Regions from separate parts of the Homo sapiens genome. Here regions 1, 2 and 3 are each linked to region 4. The links are contacts of gene promoters, found by promoter capture Hi-C in blood cells and fetal thymus (Javierre and others, 2016). All regions are on one chromosome and are shown on one strand. Each heading gives the region's core, a stretch centred on a gene start or on the middle of the fragment in contact. The rest is flanking DNA. Distances are from core to core; before and after follow the strand shown.

Region 1 (5,881 bases), core at 2,868-5,367, 73 kb before region 4:
GGGGAGGGAGAGGCTGGAGAGAGGCCGGGGATCGCAGTTAAAGTCATTCTCCCATCCTTCCCACAACTCCCCCCATTCCCTCCATTCTCTCCCCAACTCCTCACCCACCATGTCTCCTGCCTCCGTCCACTCCGTCTGTATCCGTATTTCCCGCTCCCTTTGTTCATCAAACCCCTCCTCGCTCTACCCGACCCCGGTCTGTCTGTCCCCCACCCTCTCTCCACGTCCCTCCCCGCTGTCCCGTAGGCGTGCGCGCTGGACCCCATGCTGGACGACTCGGTCATGCTCGCGCGGCGACTGCGCAACCTGGGCCAGCCGGTGACGCTGCGCGTGGTGGAGGACCTGCCGCACGGCTTCCTGACCCTAGCGGCGCTGTGCCGCGAGACGCGCCAGGCCGCAGAGCTGTGCGTGGAGCGCATCCGCCTCGTCCTCACTCCTCCCGCCGGAGCCGGGCCGAGCGGGGAGACGGGGGCTGCGGGGGTAGACGGGGGCTGCGGGGGGCGACACTAAAAGCCTGTTGTTCCCATCTGCGCCGGCCTCCGTCATGAATGCCTTCCGGGCCGGGCGGAAGGGGACGCGGGCTGTGCCTTACTTAAGTCGGGGGTGGCAAGGGGGCGGGGCGGGGGCCCGAAAGCTGAGACCCTCGCCACGGGGAGGGGGACGCGCACACACACCGGTCACCGAGACGGCTGGACCTGCACGCCACCGCTGCCTTTTGCTGCTGCTGCTGCGGCGACCGCCGCAGGGACGGGGACTGGCCCTCCCTTGCAGGTCGGTTTGGTTTGTTGTAAATAAAAGTATTTAATTAGTTTGGCCTCTCTCAAATACGGTGGGGTGTTTGCCCACCAGGGGGCAGCATCGGACTCAAGCGGCTGGGAACCAAGAAACCTGGAATGAGGGGTATGGGGGACTGGATTTTTGGGACCAGAAGGGAGTGGACTCCTTGGTAACCCGGACCCACCTCCCCTCGGACTTCATCCAGGTACACTGCCAGGAGATGCTGGGTCCTCAGCTCCTCCCCTTGAAGACCTTCGGTTAGCTGGACTCACCCTGGTCCCAGGGAGACCAGGCTCAGCATCCATCAGGGGGATATAAAAGTTAAAAATAATCTCTCGGGTCTCAAAGGCTCCAGTGACCCAAACACCCTACAGAACTGGAGCAAAGTTAGCAGGAAATCAGAAACAAACTGGCGCTCAAAATACTGTAAATGCAGCCGGGCACGGAGGTTCACGCCTGTAATCCCAGCACTTTGGGAGGCAAGACAGGAGGATAGCTTGAGTCCAGGGGTTTGAGACCAGCCTGGGCAACATAGACCAGTCTCTACAAAAACATTTAAAAATTAGCCGGGCGTGGTGGCACACTCCTGCAGTCCTACCTACTCAGGAGGGTGAGGCAGGAGGATCACTTAAGCCCAGGAGTTCGAGGTTGCAGTGAGCTATGATCGCACCACTGCACTCCAACTTGGGCAAGAGTGGGACCCTGTTTCCAAAAAAACAAAAACTGGAAATGCAAGCTCTGTCCAGCTGTGACAATCAACTCTTGGACCAACTCTCTGGCCCCTTGTAAGCCCTGAGTTTGGAGTTGAGATGATTTATACCCAAGACATGCCTTCAAAGGGCTTCTGATCCTGGATTCAGAGAGGGTGGAAGAACAGACACAGGCTGTCACAGTCCCCAGGGGTTCCACCTGTGGTAGTCAGGGAGGGCTTCACAGAGGTGGTGATCTGAGCTTGACACTACAGGATGAACAAAAGTCTGCTAGGAAGAAAAAACATGCCAGGTTGTGAGAGCCAGCTGGCAGTGATCAAAGCTGCCACCTGGCTAGAAAAAGCTTCCACCTGACCAGAAGGTCAGGTGCAAAGTGGGGAGGGGCGTGAGGGGCCTGGAGTGGTCAGCAGGAGCAGGGCCTGAAGAGCCTGGAGTACGATTTGGACTAAACTGGAGGGCAGTGGGGAGCCACAGGAGCACTTTGAGCAGGAAAGGGCCAGGGTCAGCTCAGGGCACTGAAAGATCCTGCTGGGACACTGGGGGATGGACAGAAAAGGGCAAAACTGGAGTCCTACAGGCCAAGGAGGATGCCTGAGCTGGGGCAGGAGCCGTAAGGGTAGGGAGTGTAGGTGTAGCATCCCAGAGCCATAAAAGGTGGGAAGGACAGCACCTACTGATGAGGTTACAGGACAGCAAGGGGACAGAGATGACACCCAGGTCTGGCCATGGAAGCAGGTGGACAGTGAAGCTGTCTCTTCAATGGGAGGAGGCTCAGGTGTGTGTGTGACAGGTGGGACCTGTGGAGGGCCATTCTGGACATGGTGAGCTGGAAGGTCTCAGGAAGACAATCCAGGAGACAACAAGGGTCAGAAGTGCAGTCTGGGGCTGGGTGTGGTGGCTCACACCTGTAATCCCAGCACTTTGGGAGGCTGAGGCGGGTGGATCACCTGAGGTCAGGAGTTCAAGACTAGCCCAGCCAACATGGTGAAACACTGTCTCTACTAAAAATACAAAAATTAGCCAGGTGTGGTGGTGCACGCCTGTAATCCCAACTAACTGAGAGGCTGAGGCAAGAGAATCGCTTGAACCTGGAAGGCAGAAGTTGCAGTCGGCCGAGACTGCACCACTGCACTCCAGTCTGGGCAATAGAATGAGACTCTGCCTCAAAAAAAAAAAAAAATGCAGTCTAGGTGGAACCAAGGGACTAGAACCTTTCCAGGAAGCCTGGGCAGGTGGGACAAGCAACAAGAGGGCCAGGACAGAGACAGCCCTGAGGATCACACCCCTAGTAAAGGGGTGGGCGGGGGTGGGCAGTGGAAGGCAAGGCTGGCGGGTTCTAAGGAGCAGCCAGAGAGGGAGGAAGCTGCCCAGGAAGGAGGATGTAGGGTGAAGGGAGTTTCAGGGAGTGGACCAGGTCAGATGAGGATTGAAATGTTACCCTCAGGTGTCAGCAATGAGCAGGTGACCTCAGTGACCTTGTCCAGAGCCACTGCAGGGTCATGGCCGTTAGGCAGCCAGACATAGTGGGTTGAAGAGGGAGTGGAAGGTAAGGGATTGAGCCAGTGGGCGCCACAAGAGAGCCTGATACAGGGCACATGTGTTTAGAGATGATGGACATGTTTGAATGCTGGAGGAGTGGGAGAGACTGAAGATGCAGAAACAAGAAAGCCGTTTCCTCACGGGGTGCGAAGCAAGGGATCCTCAGCTCAGAGGTCCTCGTTCACCCAGCAAGTGACTTCTGAGTCAGGGCCTGTGCTGGGGCAGGGAGCTGTAGCCCAGAACTCTTCCTGAAGGTCCAGATCCACTGGCCTGAGTCACCACTCTCCTTGTCCAACTCATAGAACCCCTTGGTCACCTCTGTCAAAACAGTCACTACCCATCAACCTGCTCCTCTTTTCCTGTCCCCACCTCAGAGATGGCTCCACTGTCCTCCAGACTAGAGCTCTGGGTCTCATGCTGGACAACCCCTTGTCCCATAGCCCATCAATCCCCACTTTCTGTTCTCTCTGCCTCCTGAATCTCCTTATTTATTTTTCTTTCTTTCTTTTTTTTTTTTTTTTTTTTTGAGATAAGGTCTCACTCTTGTGCAGGTTGGAGTGCAGTGGCACCATCTTGGCTCACTGCAGCCTCGACTTCCCGGGCTCAAGTGATCCTCCTGCTTCAGCCTCCTCAGTAGCTTGGACCATAGGCATGCACCACCACACCTGGCTAATTTTTCTTTTTTTTTTTTTTATTTTGAGTCTCACTCTGTGGCCCAGGCTGGGGTGCAGTGGCGCGATCTCAGCTCACTGCAACCTCCCCGTCCTGGGTTCAAGCAATTTTCTGCCTTAGCCTCCCGAGTAGCTGGGATTACAGGTGCCCACCACCAAGCCTGTCTAATTTTTTGCATTTTTAGTAAAGACAGGGTTTCACCATCTTGGCCAGGCTGGTCTTGAACTCCTGACCTCGTGATCCACCCGCCTCGGCCTCCCAAAGTGCTGGGACTACAGGAGTGAGTCACCGCGCCTGGCCACACCTGGCTAATTTTTTGTAGAGATGAGGCTGTCACTATGTTGCCCAGGCTGGTCTTGAACTCCTTGGCTCAAGTGATCTTCCCGCCTCAACTTTCCAAAGTGCTGGGATTACAGACACGAGCCACAGCACCAAGCCTTGCCTCCTGAATCTCTATCTTATCCCCTCGGCCTCTTCCCTGATCCAGGCTCCACTCTCTCCTACCTGAATCCCTGCCAGAGCCACCTCCTGGGCTACTGGCTTCCAGTCTCATTCCTCCAGTTCTGGACCAACTATGACCTTGTCCTCCACTACTCTCAACCCTTCCATGGCTCTCCACTACCCCCTCACCCTCAGGACAAAGTCCAAGCTCCTCAGCCTGGCCTCTGCTCATCTCTTCGGCCTCCTCCAGCCTTACAGTTCCCCTGCTGGCCATACAGACTTGACTGGCCTTCCGCTTAGGCACCTGCACGCAGTACTGCTCCTGCATGCCTCCCTGTCTTTGGTCACGCTGAAACACCCTCCCCACACCCATTTTGCCTGGCATCTCCACTTTGCCTGGCACCTTCTGCTCCTCCAAGATCCAGCTCCAATGGCCCCTCCCCTGGAAACCCTTTCCCGACCACGCCAAACTCAAAAAAGTCTCTCCTGGGCTCCCACCGTCTCCGCACACCCATGCCCATCAACGTCCATCCTCCCATCTGACCCGGGCTCCTTGAGGGCACGGCCCAGGCCTGACTCATCTTGGTCACCAGCATCGCCCAGCACGAGGCTTGGCACACCAGAAGCCTCAGGAAATGTTTGTCTAACTAATAGGTGGGAGAGTGTGTGAGTGAGTGGCTAGACGAGGGAATCCGTGAGTGAGAGAATTGAGGGCAGGAAGGGCAGAACGGATGAAGGAACAGGAAGGCAGGAGCAGACGAGAATCAGGCTTAGGGTGGGAGGAACGGATGGATGAATAACAGATCCAGTATCCCGGTCTCAGTTTCTCCAAGAAAGCAAGATGGGTTCGCCGGGACTGAGCTCCTCCCCCCTCCGCCTCAAGCCTCACTAAGCCTCACGGTTTTCCACCCGAGCTATGTGCAGAATCCTAATACTAGGCGTGCTGGAAAGGGCTTACCCGGCCAGACTCGGAGAACCCGTTCCCTCGCGAGCCCGCTCGGGCCTCTGCGGAGTGGACCAGGATTCCGATCCCTCAGGTTCCGGGTCTATTGGCCGACTGACTGGGCCTGGCAGAGACTGGCGTCTCCGAAAGCCTATCGCTGCCCGAGTTGGGCTGTGGGCCCCGCCTACCAGGCAAAGGGTCCTGAGTGGCCCAGGGAGGTAGAAGGCCGAGTGTCCATTGGCTGGAAGATAGTGACTGACGTCATGGATAGCTTTCGCCGCCAGACTCCAAAGAAGCGCCTCGCGTGTCGGACCCGCCTCCGGAGGGACTGAGTCGGGGTGGGAGCCCTGGGCGTAGACGGTCGCAGAATGGTCGTGAATGGAGTTTCTGGCCCCACATACCTAGGCTGTTTGCTGACCCGATCCTTGGGTCTTGAGGAAGGTTGGGGATTTGAGAGTTCAGACTCCTTGGTTCTGAAGGAGGAGAAGTCTGGGACCCGAGGAAGGAGGGACTAGGGGCCCGGACTCCTGGGTCAGAGGGAGGAGGGGGCTGGAAACCTGAAGGTTTGGTGTCTAGGAGCGGGAACTCCGGGATCTTGAGTCACTCGCCCGCCCAGGGATGACAGGTTTGGGGTTCAGGATTTTATGAGGCTATTTATGGGAAGGGAGCCAGGCCTTACCCCCAGGCAAGTGTTCTGGGTAATGAGGCGGAGCTTGTAATGGAGAGGGAGAAGGAAGAGGCTCAGGGGAAGCTCTGGCCTGGATATGCCCTTTCCTCATCCCGAAAAGGGAAGTCAGAG
Region 2 (5,956 bases), core at 1,683-4,182, 92 kb after region 4:
GTTAGGGCTGGAGGAAGGTTAGCATCCACAGAGCCAGGAATGCATCTCCGTCCATCATCTGTGCAGGCTCATTCCCCAGTGCCTGGCATCGTGCCCTGGGTGTTACAGACCTTCAGGAGGTGTTTGAATGAATGAATGAATGATTGCAGCCCAGGGATGATGTGGCGAACAGGCTGGAGCAGCCTACTGCATTGGAAGGAGGTGGGTGGGTTTGTTTGCTGAAGGTCACTTGGGGCCCAGCTGCTGCTCCTGCTGGCTTTACGTACCAAGCACGGGTGAGCCGACGTGGGCTCTACCAGTGGTTGTGGCTGTTGGACCTCACTTCCCAGGAGGGGAGCTCTCTGGTTTGGCGAATCTGTCCTGTGGCTGCCTGCATACGGGTCCCAGGGCTGAGGAATTCCAGAGGCACCACTGACTGCGACCCAGGCCTTGGCCTTGAAGAGCTCTCAGTTTGGTAGGGTAGAAAGGCGTCATCACAGAAAACTATTAAATGAACTAGCTGCTGCCATACCAGAAGGAGCACAGGGAATTCTGGAAATGGAGGAAGCACCCAGCCTGGTTTGTGGGTGAGAAGGATCAAGGAAGGCTTCCTGGAGGAGACCAAGCACAGGGCAAGGAAGTGGCATCTTTGGCCGAGGGGAACTGGAATAAAAGGAAGGGGGCCTAGGAAGCAGCCATGTCAGGACCTGGTCTGTCTAGGCCCTGGGGGATGCAGCAGTAACTGAAACTCAAAATCCTGCTCTCACGGTACTTCTGTTCTAGTCAGTGGGAGGGAGAGTGGCAGGAAAATGGAGCTGGAGAGGGGGCAGGCTCAGGGGTGGTTTTGATTGTCGGATTAAGGAGCCAGTGGTTTTGGTGAGGGGGAAGCTGAGTGCCTGGCTCCCTAGCCTGTTTTATGACAACCTCCCGATGTACCTTACTCATCAGGCTTCTGCCAAGGGTTGTGATTAAAGCAGTGGTTCTCAGAGTGTGGTCCGGGGACCAGCATCAGTGCTGGAGAGCTTGTTGCAAATGCCTCATTCAGAACTCACTGATCAGAAACTCTAAGAGTGGGGCCCAGCAGTCCCTTTTTTTTTGTTTTTTTTGAGACAGGGTCTCTGTCACCCACGCTGGAGTGCAGTGGTGCGATCTCGGCTCACTGCAACCTCCGCCTCCTGAGTTCAAGTGATTCTTCTGCCTCAGCCTCCCGAGTAGCTGGGATTACAGGTGTGCACCACCACGCCCGGCTAATTTTTGTATTTTTAGTAGAGACGGGATCTCAACATGTTGGCGAGGCTGGTCTTGGCCTCCCAAAATACCGGGATTACAGGCGTGACCCGCCACGCCCAGCCAGTAGTCCCTGTTTTAACAAGTCCTTCAAGTGATTGTGGTGCACATTAAGAGAACCAAGGTTTCAAATGGGTTTCCCCAAAGCTGTGGGGGCAGCAGGGAGAGTGGGCCTGGAAGGGCTCTTCAGGCCAAGCTGGTGGGGTAGTGGTGCTGTATGGGGAAAGCTGGGCTAAAGTTCTGCTATCCTGTGCCCGCCGCAGGTGTACATGTACCAGCTCTTCCGCAGCTTGGCCTACATCCACTCCCAGGGCGTGTGTCACCGCGACATCAAGCCCCAGAACCTGCTGGTGGACCCTGACACTGCTGTCCTCAAGCTCTGCGATTTTGGCAGGTGGGCCTGGGGCATGTTGGGTGGCTGAAGAGGCAGGGGGGACCCCAACCCTTGCCTCACGTGTACCCCTGCCCATCTCTTCCCACAGTGCAAAGCAGTTGGTCCGAGGGGAGCCCAATGTCTCCTACATCTGTTCTCGCTACTACCGGGCCCCAGAGCTCATCTTTGGAGCCACTGATTACACCTCATCCATCGGTCAGAGTTATGGGAGGGTGGCGGGGGGAGTGGCAATCTGGGAAGTTTTGGAGTTTTCTGTGTGCTGTATGCCAAGCTTGGTGATGAAAGCTTAACTTCTGTTCTTGTATCCAGTCCTCACAAACTTAGGAGGCTGATGCTGTTGAATGCTAATTTTACAGATGAGCTTAGAGCTGTGAGGCCGCCTGCCCGCACTGGCACCACTAGGACTGGGCAGGACTGGGATTTGAAAGCTGACCTGACTCCAGAGTCCATACCAGCTCTGGAACCTCCCTGTCAGCCCTCTGTTCTCAGCTAGGGGGAAGGGCTGCTGGAGACCTTGGGGGAACCGGGAAGCAAGGCTTTGCCACCATGAAGGTGCAACTTGCTCCCAGGGCCTCTGTGTCCTTCCCTGTTTGTGGGGACAACTGCCATTTTCCAGGCATGAGGGGAAGTCTGAATTGAGGGAATGGGCATGAGAGTTTGAAAGGGCACCTTCCACAGCAGCATGACGAACTGTGGAGTCCTTAGGTATGAACTCGTGCTGTGGGGGTCAAGGTACAAAGCAGGGAGGGGTGAGACTGCCACGCTGCAGCTCTTCTCATGGGCAGGAGAGAGGCTGGAACAAGAGGAAGGCAGTCCAGGATTTAAGGCTGTACCTTCCTGTGGCCCAAAGAACATGGGTGCCTGTTGGCAGGTTTGGGCCTAATTTGGTCTGTCGTCCAAGGCTAGCGGGAGAGAAGGAGCTCATTGGGGTCCTTAGCAGAGAGAGGAACTGAGGGCTGGAAACACACCTAGACTAGAGAGTACAGCAAAGGCAGGGTCAAGGTCGGGCCCATGTTTCTAAGCTGCATGTGACCTTGGGCCAGGTGCTTTGTCTTTGAGAAAACGGGGCTCCTGACACTCTTAGGATGGCCATGAGGAATAAAAGCATTGGGAGGTTGGTGGCCCTACTCGCCTAGCCCTGACGCTCCCTCCATTTCCCCTCAGATGTTTGGTCAGCTGGCTGTGTACTGGCAGAGCTCCTCTTGGGCCAGCCCATCTTCCCTGGGGACAGTGGGGTGGACCAGCTGGTGGAGATCATCAAGGTGAGGGGCGGGGCTGGGCTGGGCAGGGGGTGGGGCTGAGGGATGGGGCCCTTGTCTCAGACCCCTCCCTCTCTTTACAGGTGCTGGGAACACCAACCCGGGAACAAATCCGAGAGATGAACCCCAACTACACGGAGTTCAAGTTCCCTCAGATTAAAGCTCACCCCTGGACAAAGGTGGGGCAGGGCTAGGGGCTCAGGGCAGTATGGCTGAGAGCTGGTCCCCCTTGGAGGTCAACTGTTCTGTGGACCTAGCCTCAGAATCACGGCTTGGGAGGATTTGAAGAGTTATCCAGGGATCAATAACATCCATCCGCTTTCAAAGTTTATGGCATTTTAAAAGTTGAGAACCCACAAGTAAATTCAAGATTCCAATTTTTATGGAGGGTCAGCAGGGCTCATATAGTCCCAGACCTGGGCTGCCTGCTTACCCGATACAAACTGACCTCTCCTTAGTGGTTGGGCCTTAGTTTCTTCATTTGGAAGGTGGGGGTGTGGGAAGCAACCAGTCATAACTTGCCGCAGGCACTGTGGCAGTGAGATAACAGGAGTATGCCAGTGTCCAGGGCATCTCACCCTCATGAGCCCTGCACCCATCCCTCAGGTGTTCAAATCTCGAACGCCGCCAGAGGCCATCGCGCTCTGCTCTAGCCTGCTGGAGTACACCCCATCCTCAAGGCTCTCCCCACTAGAGGCCTGTGCGCACAGCTTCTTTGATGAACTGCGATGTCTGGGAACCCAGCTGCCTAACAACCGCCCACTTCCCCCTCTCTTCAACTTCAGTGCTGGTGGTGAGGGCATAGCCTGGGATCTGGGGAGTGGGGCGGGGTAGGGGGGCAGCCAAAGATTGTGAGGAGCTTGGTGTTGAAGCAGGAGTGGGGAGCTAAGGGCAGGGTACAAGGCAGGCCTGGGGCTCAGGAAAGATGACTCCCAGATTCAGGGGGAATCGAACCTGCTTCAGTTGTGCTTTACTGTGATCTGCCTTGTGCTAAGCTTTTTCTGGTTTTTCATTGAGAGAGGTCTGTGGCTGAAGGTGTCCACAAACAACTGGCCTTCCCAATAGCTGGGTTCCCATTTGGTGCCCATCATAACCCTGCTGTAGTCTACCCTGACTAGCATGTCAATTCCTGTTTCTAGAACTCTCCATCCAACCGTCTCTCAACGCCATTCTCATCCCTCCTCACTTGAGGTCCCCAGCGGGCACTACCACCCTCACCCCGTCCTCACAAGGTAAGTGGGGACCATCTGCTGGGGGTTAAAGTATCTCTCAGCCTGGAGAGGGTGGGGCTGTTCGCTCAGTGACTGGGTTTCCTGAATGTATTTTTAAATCATCGACATTTTGATGGCATAGGAAACACATCTTACAACATGTGAATGACCACCTTTAGAGGGTATTCTTGCGTACAAATGTTTAAATGTGTTTAATGCCAATGGGAAAGCCAGAGAAATAACGTCTGGCCTGAACACAAACAAAAAGTTGAATTCGTTGCCCAAGTTTGTTTTTTTTTTTTTTGTGCAATAGAGTTTCACTCGCCACCCAGGCTGCAGTGCAGTGGCTCGATCTCGGCTCACTGCAATCTCCGCCTCCTGGGCTCAGGCAATTCTCCTGCCTCAGCCTCCGAGTAGCTGGGATTACAGACACACACCACTACGCCTGGCTAATTTTTGTATTTTTACTAGAGATGAGGTTTCACCATGTTGGCCAGACTGGTCTTGAACTTCAGGTGATTTTCCCGCTTGGCCTCCTAAAGTGTTGGGATTACAGGCGTGAACCGCTGTGCCTGGCCATGGTGTCCACGTTTAAAAATGGGGCTATTTTATGTAAAAATTCAGATTTCCTGTTTCTCTTGGGGAAGAAAATCAGATTGGGCAGCAATGGGCCCGCCCATCCTACTGACAGTAGACAGTGGGCGCCCTTTATATTTTTTAGACGGAGTCTTTTTCTGTCACCCAGGCTGGAGTGCAGTGGCACAATCCCGGCTCACTCCAACTTCTGCCTCCTGGGTTCAAGTGATTCTCCTGCCTCAGCCTCCTAAGTACCTGGGATTACACGCTCATACCACCATGCCTGGCTTATTTTTGTATTTTGAGTAGACATGGAGTTTCACCATGTTGGCCAGGCTGGTCTCGAACTGCTGACCTTGTGATCTGCCCACCTCAGCCTCCCAAAGTGCTGGGATTACAGGCGTGAGCCACTGTGCCCAGCCCAGCCACCGCCTTATATGGAGCCTGGCACTCTGGTGTGTCACTCAGTTACTATCGTGGCCCTTTAGCACTTGAGTTTGCAACCCTTCACCTAAAGTAACAGCTTGTAACTTTTAATGTAGCATCTATGACAAGAGAATTCCTACTTTTGGGTTGGGCGAAGGGGTGTCTGAAAGGCAAAGGCTAACTCTGCTCCTTCCCTGCCTCCCTCCAGCTTTAACTGAGACTCCGACCAGCTCAGACTGGCAGTCGACCGATGCCACACCTACCCTCACTAACTCCTCCTGAGGGCCCCACCAAGCACCCTTCCACTTCCATCTGGGAGCCCCAAGAGGGGCTGGGAAGGGGGGCCATAGCCCATCAAGCTCCTGCCCTGGCTGGGCCCCTAGACTAGAGGGCAGAGGTAAATGAGTCCCTGTCCCCACCTCCAGTCCCTCCCTCACCAGCCTCACCCCTGTGGTGGGCTTTTTAAGAGGATTTTAACTGGTTGTGGGGAGGGAAGAGAAGGACAGGGTGTTGGGGGGATGAGGACCTCCTACCCCCTTGGCCCCCTCCCCTCCCCCAGACCTCCACCTCCTCCAGACCCCCTCCCCTCCTGTGTCCCTTGTAAATAGAACCAGCCCAGCCCGTCTCCTCTTCCCTTCCCTGGCCCCCGGGTGTAAATAGATTGTTATAATTTTTTTCTTAAAGAAAACGTCGATTCGCACCGTCCAACCTGGCCCCGCCCCTCCTACAGCTGTAACTCCCCTCCTGTCCTCTGCCCCCAAGGTCTACTCCCTCCTCACCCCACCCTGGAGGGCCAGGGGAGTGGAGAGAGCTCCTGATGTCTT
Region 3 (5,950 bases), core at 320-2,819, 110 kb before region 4:
TACTTTAATATTTATGTGTTTATTCCAATGCATGTTAGGAAAAAACTAAGCATACATCAAACCTGTAATTTCACAGATAATATTGCATAGGATGAGGATGTTTTGCAAAATAAATTTGTTTAGAGAAAAAGTATAAAGTGGCCAGGCATAGCATCTCATGCCTATAATCCCAACGCTTTGGGAGGCCGAGGGGAGCGGATCACTTGAGGTTAAGAGTTCAAGACCAGCCTGACCAACATGGTAAAACCTGCCTCTACTAAAAATACAAAAATTAGCCAGGCATGGTGGTGGGTGCCTGTAATCCCAGCTACTTGGGAGGCTGAGGAAGGAGAATTGCTTGAACCCGAGAGGCAGAGGTTGCAGTGAGCCGAGATCACAACACTGCACTCCAGCCTGGGCGACAGAGTGAGACTCCGTCTCAAAAAAAATAAATAAATAATTAAATGAAAAAAAATTTAAACATTAGTATAGCTCTTCTGAAAGCAATTCTTAACTTTTGACCCAGTAATTCCACTTTGGGAACTCTCTCTCAAGAAAATAATCTAAAATTTGGAAAACAGTTACAAGAACAAAGAAATTTACCAACATCTAAAAAATAAAACTTTCTAAATATTCAGCAATGGGAAAGCAGTTAAATAATTTGGAACACATAATTATTGAGAGTATTATGCATTCATTAAAAATGTGTTATGAAGATGACACAGCAACATGCCTATGAATGGAAAAAGAGAATGTGTTTACATGCTATGGTTATCACTATATTAATAAAAAGCATATGTAGGTAACAAATATGCCAAAATACCAACAGTTGGTAAGAATAATAATTTCTCTGTTTGTACTTTCAAAATTTTCTCCAACAGTTAAATTACATTTAGACTGAAAAAAAAAAAAACTTCAGAATTAAGGAATTCAATTAAATAATCTCTGGGATTTCCTTCAAGGTCTAATATTCTGTGGTTTTTCTCTGGAACTAGGAGTAGAGGTCAGGCAAGAGTAAAAATGTTAGAAAAGTTTAAATGGCAGGACCTATGCCTGCTTAAATTACTTTGATAACACTCAAAACAGCACATGAGAACATTGGAAAAGCAGCCCTTGGGGAAATGACGCAACCCCCTCCATCTGTGTGGCAGAAGTCTGGGAAGTAGGAGGCCTGAATTGAACCATATGATCTCTAAGGGTCCTCTCCAAACAACTTATCCATCCACGTGTTGAACAAACATTTGCCAAATGCCTACCATGTGTTAGGAACCACGTACCTGAATGACTACTGAACCAATGGTTCAGAGTCTAGTGAAGGAGAAATATTTTATTTTAGTTTGCTAGGAATGCCATAACACAATACCACAGACTGGGTGGCATAAACAAGAGAAATTTATTCCTCACAGTTCTGCAGGCTGGATATATGAAATCAGGGTGCCAGCACAGCTGGGTTCTGGCAAGGGTCCTCTTCCAGGTTGCAGACAGTGGACTTCTCCTCTTATCTTCAAGAGGTGGAAAGAGAATGAAAGAGCTCTCTAGGATCCCCCCTACTTTTTTTTTTTTTTTTTAGACAAAGTCTTGCTTTGTTGCCCATGCTGGAGTGCAATGGTATGATCTCAGCTCACTGCAACCTTTGCCTCCCGGGTTCAAGCAATTCTCCTGCCTCAGCCTTCCAAGTAGCTGGGACTACAGGCACGCGCCACCATGCCCTGCTCATTTTTGTATTTTTAGTAAAGACAGGGTTTCACTATGTTGGCCAGGCTGGTCTCAAACTCCTGACCTGTGATTCACCCACCTCGGCCTCCCAAATTGCTGAGATTATAGGCATGAGCCACCGCGCCCAGCCCAAATCTCCTTTTCTTATAAGGACACCAGGCAGACTGGTGTAGGGCCCACCATAACAGCCTGATTTTAATCACCTCTTTAAAGGTCCTATCTCCATATACAGTCATTCTGAGGTACTGGGGGTTATGGATTCAACATGTGAATTTCGGGAGACACAATTCAGTCCATAAAAGATTTCAAACAACAACATTACAGTGCAATAACAGAACTGCATTCAACAACAATGGGAACCATATGAAGGTATAATTCATGTTGACAGGAAATATCAGAAACTACCATAAAGGAAGTGTCATCTGAGCCAAGCTCTTACTTGAGAATCTCAAGTCTATAAACCATCATTCTTGATTGTCTTAGGAATTTTTTTTTTTTTTTTGAGACCGTGTCTCGCTCTGTCGCCCAGGATGGAGTACAATGGTACGATCTCAGCTCACTGCAACTTCCGCCTCCTGGGGTCAAGAGATTCTCCTGCCTCAGCCTCCCGAGTAGCTGGGACTACAGGCGCCCGCCACCACGCCCGCCTAATTTTTTGTATTTTTAGTAGAGACGGGGTTTCACCATGTTAGCCAGGATGGTCTTGACCTCCTGACCTCATGATCCGCCTGCCTCAGCCTCCCAAAGTGCTGGGATTCCAGGCATGAGCCACCGTGCCCAGCCTGTCATAGGAATATTTTAAGTATCAAAAAATGGAGATAAGATAGAATCGGAAAATAAAACAGGCTCGGATAAAGGCCAAAAGAAGAATGTATTTGTTCCAGAGGAACAAAGGTAAATACCATCGTTTAATAGTTGAACTGGGACTCTGGATTCAAATACAGCTACTTGGGGTGGGTGTGGTGGCTCATGCCTATAATCACAGCACTTTGGGAGGCCAAGACAGGCGGATCGCTTACGCCCATGAGCTCCAGACCAACCTGGGCAACTTGGCAAAACCCTATCTTTACAAAAAATACAAAAAACTAGCCAGGAGTGGTGGTGCATGCCTGAAGCCTCAGCTACCCAGGAGGCTGAGATGGGAGGACCAACCAAACCCAGGAGGTCAAGGCTGCAGTGAGCCGTGATTGCACCACTACACTCCAGCCTGGATGACAGAGTGAGACTCTGTCTCAAAAAACAAACAAACAAACAAAAAACCCAGCAACTTGGAGGTCAAGGGAAAATCTTGATTTAAGGAATAATCTCCTCCTCGCTCTCACTCTTTTAAGTCATGAGGATTTTAATGTGAGGTATGAGGAGAGGGCAGGAGGTTTCGACAAACCCCTGCCTTTTATCATCTCTTCCATCTAGAAGCCATTCTTTCTCCACCTACCTTCAGCTAAGCTTTTCTCTAGGCCAGATTTTTTTAATCATTAAATTTTTGAATATGCTTATGTATAGGCCAGATTTTAAACCTCAATCCCTTATCGATTAAAATACCCCTCAGCTGGGCACAGTGGCTCACGCCTATAATCCTAGCACTTTGGGAGGCCAAGGCAGGAGGACCACTGGAGCCCAAGAGTTCAAGACCAGCCTAGGCAACACAGCAAGACCCCATCTCAAAAATATAAATAAAAATAAAATATTCATCTCTTGAAGTAACCTAGATTCTTGAAGTAAAAATGGAAAAATGGAACTGTGCTGACCTAGGTAGAACAATGCTGGGAGGATCATTTCTGTGCCCTTTCCAGTGTCTGGATGTGACCTGTTTCCTTCCGACAGGGGTCGCCAGAGGCCACAGGGACCGAGGCCAGGCTTCTAGGAGATGGCTCCAGGAAGGCGGCCAAGAATGTGAGTGCAAAGGTCAGTAATTCAGCAACAACAACAGCGATGGCATCACCATGACCCCAGCTCTCTCCCTTGGGCCCCTCTGAGACCAATGCAGATGTTATCTCAGCTGACCTCACCCATTCCCCTCTCCACAGCCTGCCACATGCAGCACCTGTGCCCACTTTCTTCCTGACTCTCAGGCAAGAACTGGACTTCTCCAAGGTCTAGGGGAAAGCCAGCCAAATGTCAGGCTGCGCCCTGCCCCTTATCCTTTTCCTGAAGAACCCAGAGCTACCGTCCAAAAGCCTTTTTATTTTTTCCTGGCCTTCCAAAAGCTTCCTGAATCCTATTCTCAGCCTTATTTTACTCACAGGCAAGACTGAAAGCAGAGAGGCAAAATGGCTTCCCCAAGGGAAAGTAGCCACTGAAAAGCAGACACCCAAGCCTTACTCCTCATTCTTTGGAGTAATGATATTCTGATGCACCCTCCAAACCTGCCACCAAACCCTTGCCCAAACCCTTGCCCAAACCTTGCCCAAAGTTGTCAGGAAAAACAACTCAGAAATACTGGCATTCAAATAGCTGGATGGACACTGTTCTCTGTTGACCCCTTTTCCCACCCCATTGCAGTGGAAATGCAAGGCACAGAAGATGGCGATTAAAGCTCTGTCCTACTCCCTCCTATCAAATGTATTAACTCTCCCATCTAAGCAGCAATGCTGTTGTTCCAGATTGGTTCCTGAGAGCCCCGAGAAGAAAATTCATGACAGTGTCTGGGCTGCCAAAGAAGCAGTGCCCCTGTGATCATTTCAAGGGCAATGTGAAGAAAACAAGTAAGTTTCCAAAGGATGATTTTCCTTATACCAGAGTCACTCCGTGAAATCACTAGGGAAGAAGCACGTTGAGAATAGAAAAAAGAGGTGAAATTAAGACCAGGATAAGCACACAACTCAGCCCTTTCTACTCAATGTCACCTTGTCGGGAAATAGGAAGAGAGGAAAAGCAGGATACAATTTTCCTGATACTGGAAAGGTTTAACCAAATTCTTAGATTTTAAAACCTCACTGTTTACCAAAGTGGGGGTAGATGGGGCTGTTGGAGATCTGGTCATTAATCTCTGAAGATTACACCAGTGTCAGCATCAAACAGAATTTGACTCCTCCCTAGTCTAGCAGTTTTGTGTTTGTTATTTTGTTCTGTTTTTTGAGTAGGGGGTCTTGCCATGTTGCCCAGGTTGGTCTCAAACTCCTGGGCTCAAGTGATCCTTCCACCACAGCCTCCCAAGGATCTGGGGTTAGAGGTACACACCACCACACCCAGTTTAGTCTACCAGTTTTTAAGTGTCATATAAAAAGTAAATTGGCAGCCGGGCACAGTGGCTCATGCCTGTAATCCCAGTACTTTGGGAGGCCGAGGCAGGCGGATTGCTTGAGGCCAGGAGTTCAAGACCAGCCTGGCCAACATGGTGAAACCCCGTCTCTACTAAAAATACAAAAATTAGCGGGGCATAGTGGTGCATGCCTGTAATCCCAGCTACTCGGGAGGTTGAGGCACGCGAATTGCTTTAATCCGGGAGGTGGAGGTTGCAGAGAGTTGAGATCATGCCACTGCACTCCAGCCTGGGCGACAGAGTGAGACTCTGCCTCAAAAAAAAAAAAAAAAAAAAACTAAATTGGCAAATGTTAAACTGATTGATATTATGATATTATCAAGAATGGGATATATCAGGATCCTTATACACTATTGACGGAAGTAAAATAAATTTGGCTGTATCAAAATTGTAAATGAGTATAATAACTTTAGTAATCTTACTTTAGGAAATCTCAACAATGGAATACTAGCATGGATGCTCAAAATATAGGTACAAGAATATTAATTATAGCAGTATTTGTATTGACAAATAAATGGGGGAAATTTTCTTCAAAGGCAAATTGGGAAAAACTAATTACTGTCAAAAATAATTAAGTAAACCAGGGGCAGTGGCTCAGGCCTATAATCCTAGCTACTCAGGAGGCTGAGGCAGGAGGATCCAGTAAGCCAAGGAGCTCAAGACCAGCCTGGGCAACATAGCAAGATCCTGTCTCTAAAATAAATATAATAATAACAATAATAATAAAAATAATAATAATAATAATGAGATAAATCATTATGTGTTGGCTGGAGAGATATCCACAATATATTAATGAAAAAAAAATGATGTAGAGACCCCCTATTTCACATCCTTCATTAACGTAAGTTTCAGGTGGATTACAGATCTAAATTTGAAAGACAAATTTACAAGGAAATACAGGAGAATATATTCACAACCTTGAGGTATGAAAGCCTTTCTTAAACAAAATACAAAATGCACAAACCATAAAGTAAAAGAGTAAATAAATCTGAC
Region 4 (5,195 bases), core at 1,935-4,434:
AACCACAGATGTGCGCCACCACGCAGGGCTAATTTTTGTAGTTTTAGTAGAGAGGGGGTTTCTTCATGTCGGCCAGGCTGGTCTCTAAAGCCTGACGTCAGGTGATCCGCCCCACTTGGTCTCCCAAAGTGCTGGGATTACAGGCGTGAGCCACCGCACCTGGCCTAACCAGTCTGGGACTCTTTAAGGCCAGAGAGTGATTTATATCCAGCACACAGACCCCTTCGCCACACACACACACACACACACACTTCCTATTCTGTTCTCATCCCACTAGCTTGACAGGAATGGCCCCCAAGCTGGGAACAGGTAGACATGCTATCACTGAGAAACAGGCCTTCATCCATACCCCACACAGCAGCCAGAGAGATCTTCTAAAACATAAATCAGATCATGTCCTCTCCCTGCTCAAAACCCTTCCATAGCTCCCCAGAGCCCCCAGACAAAGACAAAGCTCCACAGCCTCCCAAGGGAGGCCCTGCATGATCCAGGCTCTGTCACACCTCTGGCCTTTGCCCAGGACCTCCCCTGTCTGGAGGCCAGCTTTTACATCCACTACTCTGTGAGGCCTTCCTGGGCTTCTGCAGGTACTGCCTTTCAACTTCTCTTTCACCCCTGTATTGCCCTCAGGATACAGCTCAAAATCACAGAGCCCTACACCTGCTGGCTCCTCCCACCCTGCAGCCTCTGGCTCATTCGTTGTCTTGTATTCTATGTTTTTGTTTTTGTTTCAGATGGAGTCTCGCTCTGCCGCCCAGACTGGAGCGTAGTGGCACAATATTGGCTCACTGCAACCTCCAGGTTCAAGTGATTCTTGTGCCTCAGCCTCCTGAGAAGCTGGGACTACAGGCGCGCGCCATCACACCCAGCTAATTTTTGTATTTTTAGTAGAGATGGGGTTTCACCATACTGCCCAGGCTGGTCTCAAACTCCTGACTTCAGGCGATCTGCCGGCCTCGGCCTCCCAAAGTGCTGGGATTACAGGCATGAGCCACCATACCCTGCCAGTATTCTATGTTTTAACACACTGGATTTCTAGTTCTTCAAAAGCATCACTCTCCCGCTTCCCCGCCTTTGCACAGCTATTCTTGCCTGGAATGCCCTTCTGCTCCCTCGTACAGATGCCTCTGATCTCAGCTATACCCCAGGTTAAGCCACATGTCTTCACAGAGAAAGAGCCACTGGGGCAGGGTTCTGAGGCATGCATAGGAGTTTATTGGGTGGAAAAGGAAAACAAACAGCCTCGGAGTGGGTTTGTCTCTCCCACTGACTGGGAGCCCAGAAGGGTAGGGCTGGGGCCTTTCCTCCCACTCCTGACAGATTCCTATTGGTCCTTTAAGTCTCAGCTTAGACATTTCCTCCTCCAGGAAGCCTCTCTGTTCTCCCCGGCCCCAGATCAGGCACTTTCTCTGGGCTCTCCCAGGCCTCTGGGGTTCCTCCATCAAAGACCACTCTTGTCTCTCACTATTAATGTGTTTGTCTCCCCAACTAGACTCCAAGACCTAAGTCACCAGGGATTGCTGGAGCTGTCTCAGTCTGGGCTATGTCCAATGGGAAACATAATGTCTGGCACATGAATGACTGAAGAAAAATGCTTTTATTGAAGTACTTCACAAATAACAACAACAATAATCCTAATGCCATTTATTGAACAGTTACTATATGCCACACATCAGGCATGTTAAATACCTGTTTTCATTTCATTCCAACAACTCTATGAGGTGAGTACTGTTGTTATCCCATTTGTGGGGGAAGGAAACAGAACCTCAGAGAAAGAAAACCACCTGCTCAAAGTCACAAAGCTAATAATAAGAAGCCAGGCACAGTGGCTCACACCTACAATCCCAACACTTTGGGAGGCTGAGGTGCGAGGATCGTTTGAGCCCAAGAGTTCAGGACTAGCCTGGGCGACATGGTGAGACTCTGTCTCTACACACTCAGTTACTTGGGAGGCTGAGGTGGGAGGATCACTTGAGCCCAGGAGGTCGAGGCTGCAGTAAGTAAATTGTGTTGGTACCATTGCACTCCAGCCTGGGTGACAGAGTGAGGCCCCCATCTCAAAAAAAAAAAAAAAAAAAAGTAGTAGTAGTAGAACCAAATTCAAAGCCAAATGATTGGACCCAGACCCTGAGTTCTTAACAGTTACTCAGAAGGCCCGGCACTGATGCTCCTGTCTTGTAATTGTAAATCTGGGTGTAGGTGCATCTCCCCCACCAGACTTGGAGGCCTTCCAGGGCAGGGCCCAGGTTGGCTGCAACCCTGGGTGTCAGGCATTTTAGAGCAAAAGGCCTGGACCAGAACCGAGCTCTGGGAATGTGGTGAGTGGATGAATGCACACATGAATGAACTACCAGCGAATTAGTGAGTGACCCACGCGGCCCCACTCACCCTCGATGAGCCACTCGCAGTTGCCATTGACGCTGTAGTTGCCCGCACCATCCGTCACGAAGCCTGGCGCCTCCCGCAGCACCTGCCGCTGCCCCTTGCAGTCCCCCGCCCGGGCCCCAGGGGACAGCGACCCCAGCACGGCCAAGGCCAAAACCAGTGCCATGGCCAGAACCTTGCCCAGGGCCATCGCCGCCTCCTGCACTGACCCTTAGAGCGGGGACAGGCCGTAAAAACCTGGAGAGGACCCTCTACCCGGGGTGAGGCCCTGCAAATGCGACCTCTATAGGCATAACATGACCTTGTAGATCGAAGAGGTCCCGGAGACCCGGCAGTCCCGGCGAAGGGTACGGCCACTGCTGACAGGCTCTGGAAGCCGAGGGCTGAGCCCTATAGAGCGATGGAAGGCCCTGTATATGGAGTCATTATGGACGGGGCCGAACCCTAGGGACCGTAGGAGTCCCCTATAGACACAGGGCTCCATAGGGGGCCGATCCCATGAACAGTGCCCAGCATTACGGACTCAGGCTGCTGCAGGCCAAACGGACCTTATAGACGGGTGGGTCCCCAGGGGGCGAAGGGCTCTACGGCCCGGCAGGAGCCTCCATAGAGGCTGCGGGCCGGGACAGGCTAGGTTCGGATGGTCCAGGAGAGACTCCTCCAGCCGGGGGCGGGGCGCGAGCGGGTGCCGGGGGCGGAGCCCGTCTTCAGGGGTTCGGGCCTGGACCCCACAGACCCAATCCCTTTGCTCACCCACCCTCGCCTCCCTCCGAAGCCGGATGGGCCAGATCAGAGAGACGAGGGGACGCTTGGGCCAGAGCGGCCGCGGGAAGACCCGCTGTGGGAGGGCGAGGGGGCGGGAGCCGAGCAGCCGCTGTGGGAGGGACGGCGAAGAGGAGGCGAGAAGTTACAGAGCGGCCGGTCAGAGCGGCCCTGGGAGGACTGCGGAGCGCCCAACCCCAACCCTCCATAAAGGGAGACTTCCGGGGAAATCCCCGCCCATTTGTTCCCAACCGCATGCGCAGCAGCGTCCTCCTGGAGGGAGAGAAATACACATATGCGCAGTGCTAAGATCGTAACCCAAACTCTGGGTGCCTGTGGTTCAGCAAAGCATGGGCCACTGGAGGGCGCCTCTACCTCTGAGTGAGGAAAGGAAGGCAAAAATAAAGGAGCGGTGCAAGACCCTGCTAGATGTTTGATCATCTTCAATGTTCCCACATTCTGGGGCAACATAAAGATCAGGTTATACAGGCCCCTGCCTCCGGTTCCAAATTCCCATTTCACAGATGGACACACTGAGGTCCCGAGCCTGACATAGTTCTGGCTCAGCCCCGCCGCTGAACACCATCAAGATGCAAAAGAAGCCATGTTATAGATAAAAACGAATCCTTTTTTATTTTGGCAAGAAGGGGTAAAATGTCTTTCTGCCAGGGACCCGAGGGAAGGCCCCCGGAATGGAGATGCGGCAGATGGAGTACGGGTCCGAGGTCACAGATCCGAGGGAGGGTTTCAGGGTCGAGACCAGCATCGCAATATCCATCCCGGGGTCGCAGAGTCCTGGAGAGTCACAGGCAGGGTCCCGGCGGTCACCACGGGTGTTCCGGAGTCCAGCGGGGTCAGAGGTCTCGAAGGGGGCCAGGGGGCCGGAGGTCACGGAACAGCGGGAGCCCAGAATCCGGCGCCGCTCGGGGCAGGGGCTGAGGGAGGGGACGGGGAGAGCGGCTCCCGCGGGACCGTTTGGCACAGAGGGGAGGGGGGCGGGACGCAGCGTACCCAACCTGGGCGCGCGGGGTGGGAAGGGTCGGGAAGGCCGGGGATGGGCGAGCTCTCGGGCCGGGATAAAGCAGGGGTCCGGAGCCCGGCCGGGGCCCGGTCATGGCCCATGGGGCAGGGGCGGGCAGGGGTGCTCAGACCGGGGGTGCAGTGCCCCCGGCCGTGTGCATGCTGAAGTATTCGGTGAAGCCGGTGTGCGGCGCTGCCGTCTGGGGCACGAGCGGCTGGTAGGGCGGCGTCGGGCCGTCCCAGCCCGAGTCGGCCGCCTTGGGGAACCGAGCGGGAAGTGGGGGGGAGGCTGCGCCCGGCTCGGCCATGGTCACCACGCGGCCCCTCGGGGCCACCGCCGCCGCCACCGCTGTCTCCTCCACCTGCTTCCCGGCCTGGGAGGGGGGTCAGGGTCAGAGGCCGTCCGGGACCCTCGGGGGGCAGATGCGGCCCCGAAGGCCCGTCCCCCTCCCCCGGAGAACCCTTCCACCCCAGGTGTGGACGCACGTTGTCAGTCAGGGAAGGACTGGGTGGCGGGGCGCCTGGGCAGCGGGGCCAGGTACTCAAAGGGCGGCGTCGGGGCGCGCGGGGCGAACTCCGGCGGCGGCCGGGGAGCTGGGGGAGAGCCGCGGAAGGCGGGCGGTGGGGGCACGGCGCAGGGAGTCTGCGGGGGTGTGCGCAACAGCGCCAGAACCCAGTCAGGCAGGGTGGGCGCGGGCGCCAGGGGACGGTCGCGGCGCGGTGTTGGGGCGCGGGGAGTGCGAAAGGCAGGAGGAGGGCTCAGGGGTCCGGGCGCTGGGGGCGGCGGCGGGGCCGGGAGCGGGGTCAGGTACTCCAGGGGCGGCGCCAGCAGCTCCTCGGGCGCTGGGGCCGCGGGGCTTACGGAGGTGGCGGGCGGGGGGATGGAGAAGAGCTCCGTGAAGTTGGGCACCGAGTCGCTGATAAACGTCACGTTCCCATAGACGTGCTGCGGGAAGGCCTTGTCAGCGGATTGGCTCCCTCCGGGTCCAGGGACTCCGGCTGAAGCGATCTGCGACGTGCGCACGTGG

What was found. Contacts are between HindIII fragments. The CHiCAGO score rates a contact against its expected background, and 5 or more counts as called.
Region 1: a contact is called between a fragment that was not itself captured here and the fragment with the promoter of MEGF8 in region 4, in 3 of 17 cell types (total B cells, naive B cells and M1 macrophages). The highest score is 7.0, in total B cells.
Region 2: a contact is called between a fragment that was not itself captured here and the fragment with the promoter of MEGF8 in region 4, in 1 of 17 cell types (endothelial precursors). The highest score is 5.1, in endothelial precursors.
Region 3: a fragment that was not itself captured here is called in contact with the fragment with the promoter of MEGF8 in region 4 in 5 of 17 cell types (naive CD4 T cells, total B cells, fetal thymus and 2 more); the score reaches 6.5 in naive CD4 T cells.

Annotation. Positions count from the first base shown.
Region 1 is chr19:42,396,441-42,402,321 of GRCh38, reverse strand. It overlaps LIPE-AS1 (LIPE antisense RNA 1), which reads right to left and starts at 5,174. Exons shown (of 3, transcript NR_073180.1): 1 at 5,098-5,174. It overlaps LOC101930071 (a long non-coding RNA gene), which reads right to left and starts at 5,194. Exons shown (of 2, transcript NR_126041.1): 1 at 5,098-5,194. It overlaps LIPE (lipase E, hormone sensitive type), which reads left to right. Exons shown (of 10, transcript NM_005357.4): 10 at 247-808. The coding sequence ends at 510. RefSeq lists a silencer at 564-673 and enhancers at 4,106-4,789, 4,790-5,473, 5,328-5,487, 5,508-5,647. The HindIII fragment of the contact is 4,570 bases long and covers 1,833-5,881 here.
Region 2 is chr19:42,230,252-42,236,207 of GRCh38, reverse strand. It overlaps GSK3A (glycogen synthase kinase 3 alpha), which reads left to right. Exons shown (of 11, transcript NM_019884.3): 5 at 1,530-1,660; 6 at 1,749-1,855; 7 at 2,825-2,922; 8 at 3,003-3,098; 9 at 3,526-3,712; 10 at 4,059-4,151; 11 at 5,341-5,956. The coding sequence ends at 5,414. Among named protein-coding and RNA genes, the nearest start is that of GSK3A, 9.4 kb to the left of the region's middle. The HindIII fragment of the contact is 1,969 bases long and covers 1,948-3,916 here.
Region 3 is chr19:42,431,426-42,437,375 of GRCh38, reverse strand. It overlaps CXCL17 (C-X-C motif chemokine ligand 17), which reads left to right. Exons shown (of 4, transcript NM_198477.3): 2 at 3,520-3,600; 3 at 4,299-4,400. All of the region lies in intron 1 of LIPE-AS1 (LIPE antisense RNA 1), which reads right to left. Among named protein-coding and RNA genes, the nearest start is that of LIPE, 7.0 kb to the right of the region's middle. The HindIII fragment of the contact is 3,149 bases long and covers 1-3,143 here.
Region 4 is chr19:42,323,624-42,328,818 of GRCh38, reverse strand. It overlaps MEGF8 (multiple EGF like domains 8), which reads right to left and starts at 3,184. Exons shown (of 42, transcript NM_001271938.2): 1 at 2,389-3,184. The coding sequence starts at 2,575. TMEM145 (transmembrane protein 145) reads right to left here. Exons shown (of 15, transcript NM_173633.3): 14 at 5,030-5,195; 15 at 3,755-4,082. The coding sequence ends at 4,002. RefSeq lists silencers at 2,519-2,588, 2,599-2,668, 2,889-3,028, 3,069-3,258. The HindIII fragment of the contact is 9,695 bases long and covers 1-5,195 here.